Linked DNA regions of Homo sapiens: regions 1 and 3 are each linked to region 2. The links are contacts of gene promoters, found by promoter capture Hi-C in human tissues and cell types (Jung and others, 2019). All regions are on one chromosome and are shown on one strand. The core of a region is centred on a gene start or on the middle of the fragment in contact, and the rest is flanking DNA. Distances in the headings are between cores, read along the strand shown.

The links. The method cuts DNA at HindIII sites, captures the fragments that hold promoters and counts their contacts. A contact is called where the count stands out against the background at its distance.
Region 1: a contact is called between a fragment that was not itself captured here and the fragment with the promoter of SIM2 in region 2, in 1 of the 25 tissues and cell types used here (H1 embryonic stem cells).
Region 3: a fragment that was not itself captured here is called in contact with the fragment with the promoter of SIM2 in region 2 in 2 of the 25 tissues and cell types used here (IMR-90 fibroblasts and spleen).

The regions. Positions count from the first base shown.
Region 1 is chr21:36,662,751-36,666,542 of GRCh38, reverse strand. The region is part of intron 1 of LOC105369308 (a long non-coding RNA gene); the gene reads left to right. Among named protein-coding and RNA genes, the nearest start is that of SIM2, 34 kb to the left of the region's middle. The HindIII fragment of the contact is 5,223 bases long and covers 1-3,792 here.
Region 2 is chr21:36,697,703-36,701,581 of GRCh38, reverse strand. SIM2 (SIM bHLH transcription factor 2) reads right to left here and starts at 2,467. Exons shown (of 11, transcript NM_005069.6): 1 at 1,661-2,467. The coding sequence starts at 1,835. It overlaps LOC105369308 (a long non-coding RNA gene), which reads left to right and starts at 2,591. Exons shown (of 3, transcript NR_188246.1): 1 at 2,591-2,673. It overlaps LOC107985492 (a long non-coding RNA gene), which reads right to left and starts at 1,066. Exons shown (of 4, transcript XR_001755029.1): 1 at 1-1,066. RefSeq lists enhancers at 54-646, 647-1,240. The HindIII fragment of the contact is 19,577 bases long and covers 1-3,879 here.
Region 3 is chr21:36,731,484-36,735,617 of GRCh38, reverse strand. The region is part of intron 7 of SIM2 (SIM bHLH transcription factor 2); the gene reads right to left. Among named protein-coding and RNA genes, the nearest start is that of SIM2, 34 kb to the right of the region's middle. The HindIII fragment of the contact is 5,714 bases long and covers 1-4,134 here.

The DNA of each region.
Region 1 (3,792 bases), core at 743-3,242, 35 kb after region 2:
TCATGTTCCTCTCTTCTACGAGCCCCTAAACAGAACGCTTCTCTCCTTCAGAGGGTAGAAAAAGGCTCTGGTGCACGTCCACATATGGAGATACATGTGAGAAGAACAGTGGGCTCACCAGTTTTGAGAGGCATTAAACCATAATTTCAGTTTGGGTTCCGGCGATATCCTGCAAGTTTGGGAACACTGGTCCCTCCAAGACTACACCATACTTTTCAACACCATTGGATGGGGTGGGTTTATCTCCCTGTTCAGTGAGCATGCTTTTCATTCTGCTGCCCTCAGCTGGATCCAGTGCCCTGAGCCTCTCTGGTTCACCTGGTCAGAGAGGAAATATCCAGTATTCTGAAGGGGAGGGCAAGCAGCAGACATTCAGAGATCAGGTGAGCAGCACCAGCAACACTGGTGCACCCAGGAGGGGCCTGAGGGTCTGCCTTCCCCTGCACAGTCTTCCAACCAACCCTCCTCCGCAGCTTGCTGGTGTACTCTCACATTCAGAAATACCTGGGGCTGGCCGGGTGCCGTGGCTCATGCCAGAAATCCTAGCACTTTGGGAGGCTGAGGCGGGCGGATCGCTTGAGCTCAAGAGTTTGAGACTAGCCTGAGTAACATGGTGAAACCCTGTCTCTACTAAAAATACAAAAAAAAAAAAAAATTAGCTGAGTGTGGTGGTGTGCCTTTGTAGACCCAGCTACTTGGAGGGCTGAGGCAGGAGGGTCACTTGAACCTGGATGGTCAAGGCTGCAGTGAGCCGAGATCATGCCACAGAACTCCAGCCTGGGTGACAATGTGAGACCCTATGTCAAAAAAAAAAAAAATATATATATATATATATATATATGGAGCCCCTGATTTCTGAGTGTTTCTGTGATTCTGGATCAGAAATCATCTTGTTTCTTGAGGGCTCACCCCCTCCACCTCACTCCAGCTGGCAGGGCTCATCTCTCTCCAGCCCGCTAAGCCAGAGACCATTAGCCCATGCATTGTTCTCCCTTCAAAATATTGCTAAGCTTTCTCATATTCCACGGTTTCTTCTCCTGACCTTGTTGTCTCTGCAAGTGTGTTCCTTTTTTTGCCTTTACTGTCATTTTAGTGAGATTTGAGGAGAGTGTAGAGATAAACACATGTTGGCCGGGCATGATGGCTCATGCCTGTAATCCCAGCACTTTGGGAGGCCAAGACGGGCAGATCACGAAGTCAGGAGTTCGAGACCAGCATGGCCAACACTGTGAATCTCCATCTGTACCAAAAATACAAAAATTAGCTGGGCGTGGTGGTGCATGCCTGTGATCCCAGCTACTCGAGAGGCTGAGGCAGGAGAATCGCTTGAACCCAGGAGGCAGAGGTTGCAGTGAGCCGAGACTGCGCCACTGCACTCCAGCCTGGGTGACAGAGGGACTCTGTCTGAAAAAAAAAAAAAAAGAGAGAGAGAGAGAGAGAGAGAAACACCTGCCTAACTGGAAGCACCCTACAGTATCTTGATGTCTAGAGTAGCCTAGATTGGTCCTGTATAGACAGGAGACCTCCCTCCTTAGGGAGCTTAAGGGCCAAGAGTGGGTCACAGAGGGACCAGCGGGGTGTCCCGGATTGCCCCTGTTCTCTCTGGAGGCCAATCCCAGTGCTAAAGTGCAGTATACCTAAGTCACAGCTCCTCACCTTACAGGGGAAGCCTGAGCCCAGAGACCCGAAGTAACCCGCTGCGTGCCACTGCCAGCAAACGCACGACAAAATGACAAGGCTGGCAGGGAGATCTGGGCTGGGGTGTGGCCAGGGACAGCAAGTTGTCAGACTTTGTGCAACAGCGTTGTTGGCCTTCAGATTTGGCAGATTTTCATTCATTCGGGGAGTGCTGCCAGGTTTTGTTAATTAATTAAATGGAATTTATTAAATATAAAATGAAATGTCCATTTTCCTCTCTTCCAAGAATATGCCAAAATTGTAGCTTTACTCTTGTTTGAATGCTAATATTCTCTCTCGCTCTTTCTCTCTCTGTGTGTGTGTGTGTGTGTGTGTGTGTGTGTGTGTGTGTGTGTTTAAGGAGGAGAATAGCTATTGGTTCTGGAAAAAGTGTAACTAGGCTCTGAAATGGAAGTGCCCACTTCTGACCTTGGCTTCCAAACTCCCCTTTTCCTTCTGCACCCCCTCCTCATGTTGCCACTTTCTCTCTGGCCTCACAGCCTTGGCAGTGCTGGCCTCTGCCTGGACCCCTCTCCCCTCTCCCTTCTCTTCCCCTCCTCACTCCTGCTGCTTCTCCAGCTTAGATGCAGCTTCCTCCAGGAAGTCTCCTGAGATTTCCAGATGAGGGGAGGGCACTGATGAGGCTGCCCTGGGTGCCCCATTCTCTGCCTCGGGGGATTTGTCCCACATCATTGTGCTATCACCCCGAGTCTGTGAGCTCTGGAAGAGCAGCTGCCAGGCTTGCAATAATCTCTGCAGTAACCCCGGGCTACTGTCAGCACACCACAAATACTCAAGGGACTGAATGAAAGAGGTGGAATCCATCATTCTTTCTTTATTTCCTTGGCTTGAATCCCGCCTTTCATATTCATATTCATATCATATTCCATTTCTGATCTGTTTTTTATATTAAAAGTGTCATCACAAAAATTTAGCTGGGTCATTGCCGTCCCCTTCTAGTTGAGCATTTTGCTATTTTAATGCAAAAATAACTCTTTGAGGGAGAGGTGAACAAAGCTGTTAGATAAAATTAATTGGAGTCATTAAAAGTGAGTAAGTTTTTTTGGGAAAACCAGATTTTAGGGGCCAGTCCGGGGAAGCTCTGCAGGGGAGCAGCAGCTCCCGGGGTTCACCCCGCATTGCTCTCTGCTTTGTTCTGTGACCGCTGGGCTGTGGCAGCTGACTGGTGGTTCTCACTGGTAGCTGCTTAGTGGCGGTGACATATTAATTGAACCTCACTATTTCCAGGTGTGTGGCACACTCCAGGGTCACCAGTGCAGGGGGTTCATGTGTGTTCAATTACTGCTGCGATATGAAGGAATGCAACATGTCATTGTTCAAGTGTCAATTACCACCCCTCGCGGGGCTGCCTGAAAACTAAACCAATCAGCCCCTTCCCTGTGGAGCGTGTTCTGTTTGGGCTTGAAACGCTGTAAAGCACGCTGTAAACCATGTGCGTGTTCTCGAGAAACAGGGAAGAAACAGAGAGCCGAGAGGGGAAGGGCTAAAGGGCTGGTAAATTTATCTGGAAAGTTCAGGCATGTTCCCATTTATTTCCAGAAGGCACTAGGCAGTGTACAGGATATAAGATTGGAATTACAAAGTCACAGAGAGCTGAAATGATTCACTCAAGGATGCAACTATTTGCTAGGGGCCAGAGATGATGAAATATCTGTCGTTGTATATACCGGAGTTTTTATATGAAGCTAGTTTATGGACTTTACTTTTTTTTTTTTTTGAGACAGGGTCTTGCTCTGTCTCCCAGGCTGGAGTGCACTGGCACAATCATGACTCACTGCAGCCTCGACGTCCTGGACTCCAGCAATCCTCCTGCCTCAGCCTCCGGAGCAGCTAAGACTTCAGGCATGAACCACCACGCCTGGCTAATTTTTTTTGTAATTTTTATAGAGATGGGTCTCACTATATTGCCCAGGTTGGTGTCAAACTCCTGAGCTTAAGCAATCTTCCTGCCTCAGCCTCTGAAAGTGCTGGGATTACAGGTATGACCCACAGTGCCTGGCCAACCATATATATATATATATATATATATATATATATATATATATATATATATATGTATATGTGTGTATATATATATATATATGTATGTGTATA
Region 2 (3,879 bases), core at 1,218-3,717:
GAGAGGAGAGCGCCCCGCGGCCGCGCGGTAGGGCCGGGTGGCACAGGAGAGGCCTAGGGTCCGCTTCCAGCCCCCTCCGCTGCCGGGTGCTCCCGGGTCAGCCCGCGCCTGGCTCCTGGGCCGGGGAGCCGCGGGGCTGGAGGCCGCGCTTGCAGACCAGCCCTCTGCGCTCCACCGGGGAGGGGCCGAGAAGCGCAGCTCCAGACCCAGCGGCCAGCACAAATAACAGGCTTGGCAGAGGCGAACGCAAAAGGTCGAGCTTTCCGATTTCGAGTAGAGTGCCTGGTGGGGATGGCGCTATGGAAGCGCCCTGCGGCCTAGGGACACCTGTCGCCTGCTCTGCCCCGACCGTCCGGCGCCCTGCGGCGGAAGTTGTCTCCCTACCTCGGCACTGGCTCCCGGGGCTCCAGAGGCCGGCGCAGCCCTCCCAGCTCCTGGGCCCAGAGGACCCACCAGAACCCTGAGCAGCGCGCCTCCCAGCAAAGAGTCAAATCCTTCGGGCCAGGCCGCAGCGACCCCGCTGGGAGCAGAGGCTCTGGAAGACGCGGCCCGGAACGCTTGGGACGCCAAAAACGCTCAGACCTGCTGCTCGGAGGTGCCTGGCCGGGCAGCCACTGTCACCAGCGGCAACCGGCGTGGGCGGCGGGGCAGCCCACCCAGCGCGCCACTATTTCTTCCTGTTCCGAGTCTTCCGCACCGCGGGTCCCAGCGCCCCTGGCCCACTGGCACATTTTCAATCCTGAAAAGAACGGCAGCGCTCAGCTCTGTCTGCCATTTTCGAATTAATCGGACCCCTCTCTTTCAGCCGGGTCTCAGCTCAGCAACGGCGGGGGCGGGTCTCTCCTGCCCGGACTTCCCGCACCCCAGCCTCACGAGAGGGCCCGGCTCAGCACAAGTGTTCGCTCTGTGGCCTCAGCCTGCAGTGCTTGGGCCTCACCGTGATCCCCGCTGACTCGCAGCGCCTGAAGCTGACCCTCCTTCACCTCCTCCAGAAGAGACAAAAAGAGGGAGGAATGAAGGAAAAATAAAGGGAATCGTAGAAAGAAAAGGAGGAAGGGAAGGAGGGATAAAGAAAGGAAGGGATGGGGAAAGAAAGAAAGCAAAACCAGAGTGAACTTCCAAAGAAAGGAAGGAAAGCAGAAAAGGAAAGAAAACAAACCAATGCATTGGCAAAGGAAGGAAGGAAGGAGGGAGGGAGAGAGGGGGCCAAGGAAGGAAGGAAGGGGAGAATGAAAGAAAGAGGAAGAAAGAAAGAAAAAGAAAGAGAAAGAAAGAAAGAAAGGAAAGAAAGAGAGAAAAAAATCCAAACCAAACCAGAATGCACTGGCGAAGGAAGGAAGGAGGAAAGGGAGAAAGAACAAAACCAGAAAGAACTCGCTGGCCGTGCGGGCTGGGGGACTGCCTGCCCCTGGAACAATTCGTAATTCGCCCTCACCCAGCCCTGGACCAGGAGAGGGTTTGGTCGCCTGGGCCGCCAAGGCCCTGGCCCCTCGCCCCAAGCCAGCGCCGAAGCCGAAGACCCTCACGCAACCTCCCTCAGACGCCCCAGCTCTGGACGCCAGGCCGCGGCAACCCCTCTGGGCGGGCTGGCTTGCGCTTCCCGCCTGGGCCGGGGCCGCCGGGCTCCCCAGCGTCCCCGGCCGCCCACCTGAGGCCTCACCTTCGGGGAAGACGGCGCGCATCTTCAGGTAGCTCGTGGTGAGGCGGATGATGGACGCTTTGTCCAGCTGCGAAGTGATGGCCGACGGCAGCGGGAGCAGCTTGGCAAGCTCGTAAAACTCGCCATTTTCCTTCTCCCTCCTGGTCTTGGCCGCATTCTTGGACTTCTCCTTCATCGCGCCTCGGCTCCGGGCATATTAGACCCGGCCGTGCTCCAGGCCCGCGGAGCCCCGCTCGGGCTGCGGCGGCGGGGATGGGGAAGGGGGAGCCGGGAGCCAGGTGAGTCCGCGGAGTGGGCCGCGGGCAGGTGCGGGGGGCCTCCCGGGGTTCCGAGACGCCTCCCCGCAGCCGCCGGGCCTGAGCTCCGAGCAACCCGGCGGCGCCGCCCGCCGCTGCCCGGAGCGCAGCCTCCTCCGGGCTGGACCGTCCTGCAGCAACCGGAGCCCCGTTCCTGCTCGCTCCTGTTTCCTCCCTCCTGCCTCTCCTGCCTCGGCCTTCCTGGGGGGTGGGGGCGGCCGGCGCGGAGGCGGAGGCGCTGCTTACTCCTTCGTCGAGTGCTCGAACCGGCTGCGGCAAGGCCCCTCCGGACCGGAGGGCGACAGGGGCGGCGGTGGCCGCGGAGCCATGGAGCGGGAGCCCAGCGGAGGGGAGCGAGTCGCAGGCGGCTGGGGCCGGGCCCTGGCCCGGGCGCGCTCTCCTGCCCTTCCTGGCGGCTCCCTGTGCCTGGAGACGCAGCGCCGGAGCCCGCGATGTGTGGCTAGGCGCAGCACCTCCGCTGTCCACGTGCGGCCGAGCCGCGTTTGTTTATGGCAGACCCGCCTTCGGGCGGAGCACTGGCCGCCTGGGTCCCGGAGGGGGGAGCGGGAGGGGGGAGGGACCGCGGCGGGGGCGGGGGCGGCGAATCTTGCCTCCGACCCCGCCGCGGCCCTGGAGTCACAGGCGCGCCTCCGCGTCGCTGCCTCCAGGGACTCTCCCGGGAGAGACCCGCGCGCTCCCGGGTTCGGGGAAGTCGCGGTGAGTGCACACGGCGCGCCGCGGGGACCCGCTCCTGAGCGCCGGTCGCCGGACCCCGGAGCTAGGATGGGCGGCAGGGAGGGCGAGGGAAGGAGGGGTGCCGAGGCCGCCCCTGTGGCTCTCGGGAAGGTCACCAGCAGGCGCGGCCGAGAGGAGGCGGCGCGACTCGTTGGCCAGGCGCCCTGCCGGGGAGGATCGAGCCTTCCGAGGGTGCGCTGGTCCCGCGTCCTCGCCCTCCCGGTGTTGCAGGTCCAAGAGCTGAAAAGGGGAAAGCCGGGAGCCCCCCTCCCCCCATTACACACACACGTGAAAACGGCGCGAGTGGCTCCGAAGTGACCCTTCTGCCCTTTCTGTCCTCGAAACACTAAGGTGCAAAGAGATTGTCGCCTTCTCAGGAGGAGCGGGAGGCCGCAGGGGCGCTCAGGCCAGGGGAAGGGAGGGGCCAGGGAGCCCAGCCGAGTGGTGAGGCCTCTCCCAGGGCGCCGGCGGAAACAGGGCCCAACTGCCGGGGCGGCGGCAAAAGCAGCCCGATTCAGCGCAGCCGGAATTTTGAGGAATCGGCGTTGGGCGATTAAGGGCCAAGGTCGCTGAGCCAGGGTCACAGGGTGGGCGCAGGTGGCGCAGGTGGGGCCCATGGTGATGGGGCAGAAGGCAATTGGAGAAAGAAGACTCCGTTGCAGACGCGGCCACTGGGCATTCTGGACTCTCCTTCAGGGTCATTTTGGACCTAAAGAGTCCTTTTGTCCCCCCTCTGCCCTCCCCTGTCCGGCTCCCGCAGCCTGGAAATGGGTGTGCGGCCCAGGAGTCCTCCGCGCACCCCTGCAGCGGCGGTCACATAACCCCACCTCTTCCAGGAGTGCAGCTTTCCCGGCCCCCCAGGCCAGAGACAGGCTCAGAGGACGCAGGGCAATTCCTTACCTTGGCGTCGAGATCATGTGGGGACTCTCGGCCGTGTGCCACAGGCTGCAGAGCCGTGGAGCAGTGGGGTGCGTGACCTGGAGGTCAGCAGGGGCCGGGAGGACACCGGGCCGCGGATGGGGGCGCGGAGATTTGGGTTCTCGGTGTCACTGCTCTCGCCACTGGCCCGGGATCATGAGCCTGCTGCTCCGAAAACTCGCCGTCGGACAGCGACTGAGTATCCGCTTCCCTCCCCTGGCCCTCCCCTGCGCCAGGAAGGCCTGGCCTTCGGCAACCGTGCCTGCAGCA
Region 3 (4,134 bases), core at 400-2,899, 35 kb before region 2:
GTGGGGCCAAGCAGCAGTGGGGCACATGTCCCCAAGAGGAGAGCAGCAGCTATTGGTACAAAGCCAGGAGTGGAGACAGAGCTGGAGAGTGTGGGGGATGGGCTTCCCTCAGCCCTCACACAGCAGTGGTGTGGGTGTAAGGACGCTCCTGTCAGCCAACAGGGACCCCCAGAGAGAGGCGTGGCCTCTGTGGACAAGGGAAAGATGACAGACAGGGCTCGGAAGGGAGAAACTTGTGGAAGGTTAGAACAGAGAACATCTTAACACAGCCTGGATGAAGGCCCAGCAGGGAGGAAGCTGACGACAGGCTGTGAAGACATCAGCCTTGCTCTGGCCCAGCCACATCCACTGGCCTGACCTGTTCTCCCCCACTGAGGCCTTTCTTTGGCAGGGCCCACCCTGACCATGTTGGGGGTAAGCCAGGCAATCAAGGCCCCCTGAGAGCTGCCCTCCAGCTACTGACTGACAGGCACAGGGGTATCAATACCTCAGCTCACTCTCCCCTCTGCTTGATGACACTGGCTCTGGGGTATCCCCGGCGTTGAGCGCCAGCCTCCCTCGGCTGTAGCCAGTGGACAACACCCTTTGTGGCTCCTTCTCTTCTCTGGCTCACTCCTCCCCTGGCCATGTCTAGTCACTGTCCAAATCAACCATTGCACTTCAACTCCAGGCTCTGGGGCAGCTTCTGGAGTTTCAGGAAATCAAACAGGTGCCACCCAGCCCTGGGGATGGAGAGGCAGGAACAGGAGGCCTGGGGTTGGCCCCTCTGGCCCAGGTTCTGTACCTGGGAAGGAGAGTGAGGCCTCCACAATCACAAAGCTCCATACCATGAAGACCCCGACTCTGAAGACCCTGCTTGGGAGTTGACTGTCTTCCCAGAGAGTTCTAGCTTTGGAGAGGCGTGTGACATTCCAGTTGAGTGCTCTGAGGGGAGGCTGCTGCTCAGCCCTGCAGGTGGTTCCCACGCTGGAACCAAAGAACTCCCCATCATCTGAGACTATCCTTGCTTCCCCTCCCTCTCAAAGCTGCCAGGGGAAACTGAGGCAGGCACACTCATGGTGAACTCCAAGACCACACCAACCCACCGGCCTGGCTGGGGTGCAGTCTTTTCTGGTTGTTTCTCTAGCACAGCTAAGGTCAGAGTCACAGGACAGTAGCAATCACTGTCAATCTTGCTATTTTCTGTTTTCTTTGAATTACCAATTCTGGCTCATTTGGAAAAGAAAGCCATGCCCCGTCTAATTTCTAAACACGCCTACCTTTTTGAGCCTGTGCCTGCTTGCCCTTTCAGAGTCCCCTTGGACAACTTCAATATCTGGAAACTTCCTGTGAGATAAAGTGGCTTCATCATATAAACCACAGAAGACCCCTCAAATAAAATCACCTTGTGGGTCTGGTGAGCCAGGCAAGCTCAGGAGGGCTGGGATCCTACAGAACAGCCACCAGCCCACATCTCCAAGGTTAAGCCCCGTGGTGTGGTGTGGTGTGGTGGTGACGGCTGACAGCACGACAGCCAATGGGCTGGACTTTGGTCCTGCCCCAGCTCCACTGCTGCCCTTGGACAAGTGTCCCCTGAGTCTCACCCTGATCACCTGGGAAAAGGGCACGAGAGGGACACAGCTCCCCAAACTGCCCGCAGGTCAGAGTCTATAAGTGAAAGCATCTACCCATGATGGACACAGAGGAGGCACTGACTGAGCACCACTGTGGGCTTCATGACTGTTCCAAAGCAAATGGGGAAAAAAATCCCTGCTTCGGGCCGGGCATGGTGGCTCACGCCTGTAATCCCAGCACTATGGGAGGCCGAGGCGGGCGGATCACGAGGTCAGGAGATTGAGACCATCCTGGCTAACACGGTGAAACCCCGTCTCTACTAAAAATACAAAAAAAATTAGCCAGGCTTGCTGGCGGGCGCCTGTAGTCCCAGCTACTTGGGAGGCTGAGGCAGGGCAATGGCATGAACCCGGGAAGAGGAGCTTGCAGTGAGCCGAGATCGCACCACTGCACTCCAGCTTGGGTGACAGAGCAAGACTCTGTCTGAAAAAAAAAAAAAAAAATCCCTGCTTCCTGGGTTAGCCAGGCAGTGTGAGATAAAAGACATGGTATTTAAAAAGAAGACTTTTGTCTAGGTGCAGTGGCTCACACCCGTAGTCCCACTTGAGGTCAGGAGTTCAAGACCAGCCTGCTCAACATGGCAAAACCCTGTCTGTATTAAAACTAAAAAAATTAGCCAGGCGTGGTGGTGGGCACCTGTAATCCCAGCTACTTGGGAGGCTGAGACACGAGAATTGCTTGAACCCAGGAGGCAGAGGCTGCAGTGAGCTGAGATCATGCCACTGCACTCCAGCCTGGGCAACAGAGCGAGACTCCATCTCATTAAAAAAAAAGAGATTTTTGATTCCCTCAGTTTTGTCTCTGTGCTTAGAGGCCTAATTTCCTGCCTTTCAGCCCGCTGTGAAGAGCAAGTCTTCTCTTGCTGTAATTCGGGGGTATGCTTTAAACTCCCCAGCATTCTCCTGCCTCCATGGAAGGGGGCTCCAGACCCCCCAGGGCTGGGGCTTTCCCTTAGAACAGCTGGTCAGCCCCTCCGCCCCAACAGTGGCAGGGGGAGCGTGTGGAGGTATGAGCCCTCACCTTCACTCTCCAAGTCCCAGACTGTTCTAGGGCACAGCACAGCTCTATGCCCTCGAGGCAAATGCCTCTCCCGTCTCCCAACTGCTCTTGCTACTGCAGAGCCCCTCCACTCTGCTCTTCACACCCGCCTGATCAAGTCTCCTGGATATCTGATTCTAGAATTGACACACCATACCCAGTTTGCTCAAGAAAACTTTCTAGCTCCCATATTAGTGACACCGACGGAGAAGTTCCATCCGAACACTAAGCAGCTGCTTCTCTACCAAGCTTGGTCTCCAGAATGACAGAGATGGTTATGAGATCATGATTTGGTCTTTAACAAAAGACACAAAAGGGTTGTTCACACCTCCAAGTCTCCACATGAGTCAAGGAGCAAGGAAGAAGCCGTCTGTGCCTGCTCAGCCATAAGTCCTGGTTGTCACGGGTTTCTGTCCATAGAGATTTGGGGAGGGAAGAGCAACAGCGACACCCTGGGAGTATCGAGTTCCCGGGTCCCAGTCCACACGGAGCCCAGCACACCACGCATCTGTGGACCTAGCGGCCTGCGGGCCTGCCGTCCCCCTCCCACTCGACACTGGCAACCTGTCCTCTAACGTCCCTGAGCCAACAGAAGGCAGAGCAAGAACAGAGGACATGCCATCTGGGCCACACTGCAGAAGACCCAGCTCCTCTAACTGTCTGCACCCCATTATAAAGCACCCCCGACTGGCCATGGGCGTGGCAGGGCTGGACAGCAGGAGGATGAGGCATTCCACTCCATCCAAATTAGTCTTTGCCTCCATTTGGATTCTGAAAGTGTGTGGCTGGGTGCGGTGGCTCATGCCTGTAATCCCAGCACTTTGGGAGGCGGAGACAAATGGATCACCTGAGGTCAGGAGTTCGAGATCAGCCTGGCCAACATGGTGAAACCCCGTCTCTACTAAAAATACAAAGATTAGCCAGGCGTGGTGGCATGCACCTATAATCCCAGCTACTTGGGAGGCTGAAGCAGGAGAATTGCTTGAACCCAGGAGGCGGAGGTTGCAGTGAGCCAAGTTCATGCCACTGCACTCCAGCCTGGGCAACAGAACAAGACTCTGTCTCAAAAAGATTTTTTTTTTTAGATTTTAAAAAAGTAAAAGAAAAGTGTCACTTCTTTAAACATTTCAGTGACTAGAGCATCCGCCTCTATATCCTGATGTTCCCAAACCGCCTCCGTTGGCAAATCAAATTGGTGTTTGTTCACCCCGTCCCAAGATGACCTCTCCCATCGTGGAATGGTGGCCTCCCTGGGCTTCCCCTAGCTGGCTGGGGTATAGCAGTCGGAGGCAGGGCTCTGCGTGGGTTCAGCTTCCAACTCCGCTACCATCCAGCTGTATGAAGGTGGGCAAGCGGCTTAACCTATCTGGACCTCAGCATCCTCACTGGTAAAATGAGGATCATGACAGTGAGACCCTCCCTCACTGGGCTGGTAATGTATTTAGTCACTTAAACTTAGTGCCCGACAGCAGTAAGAGCTCC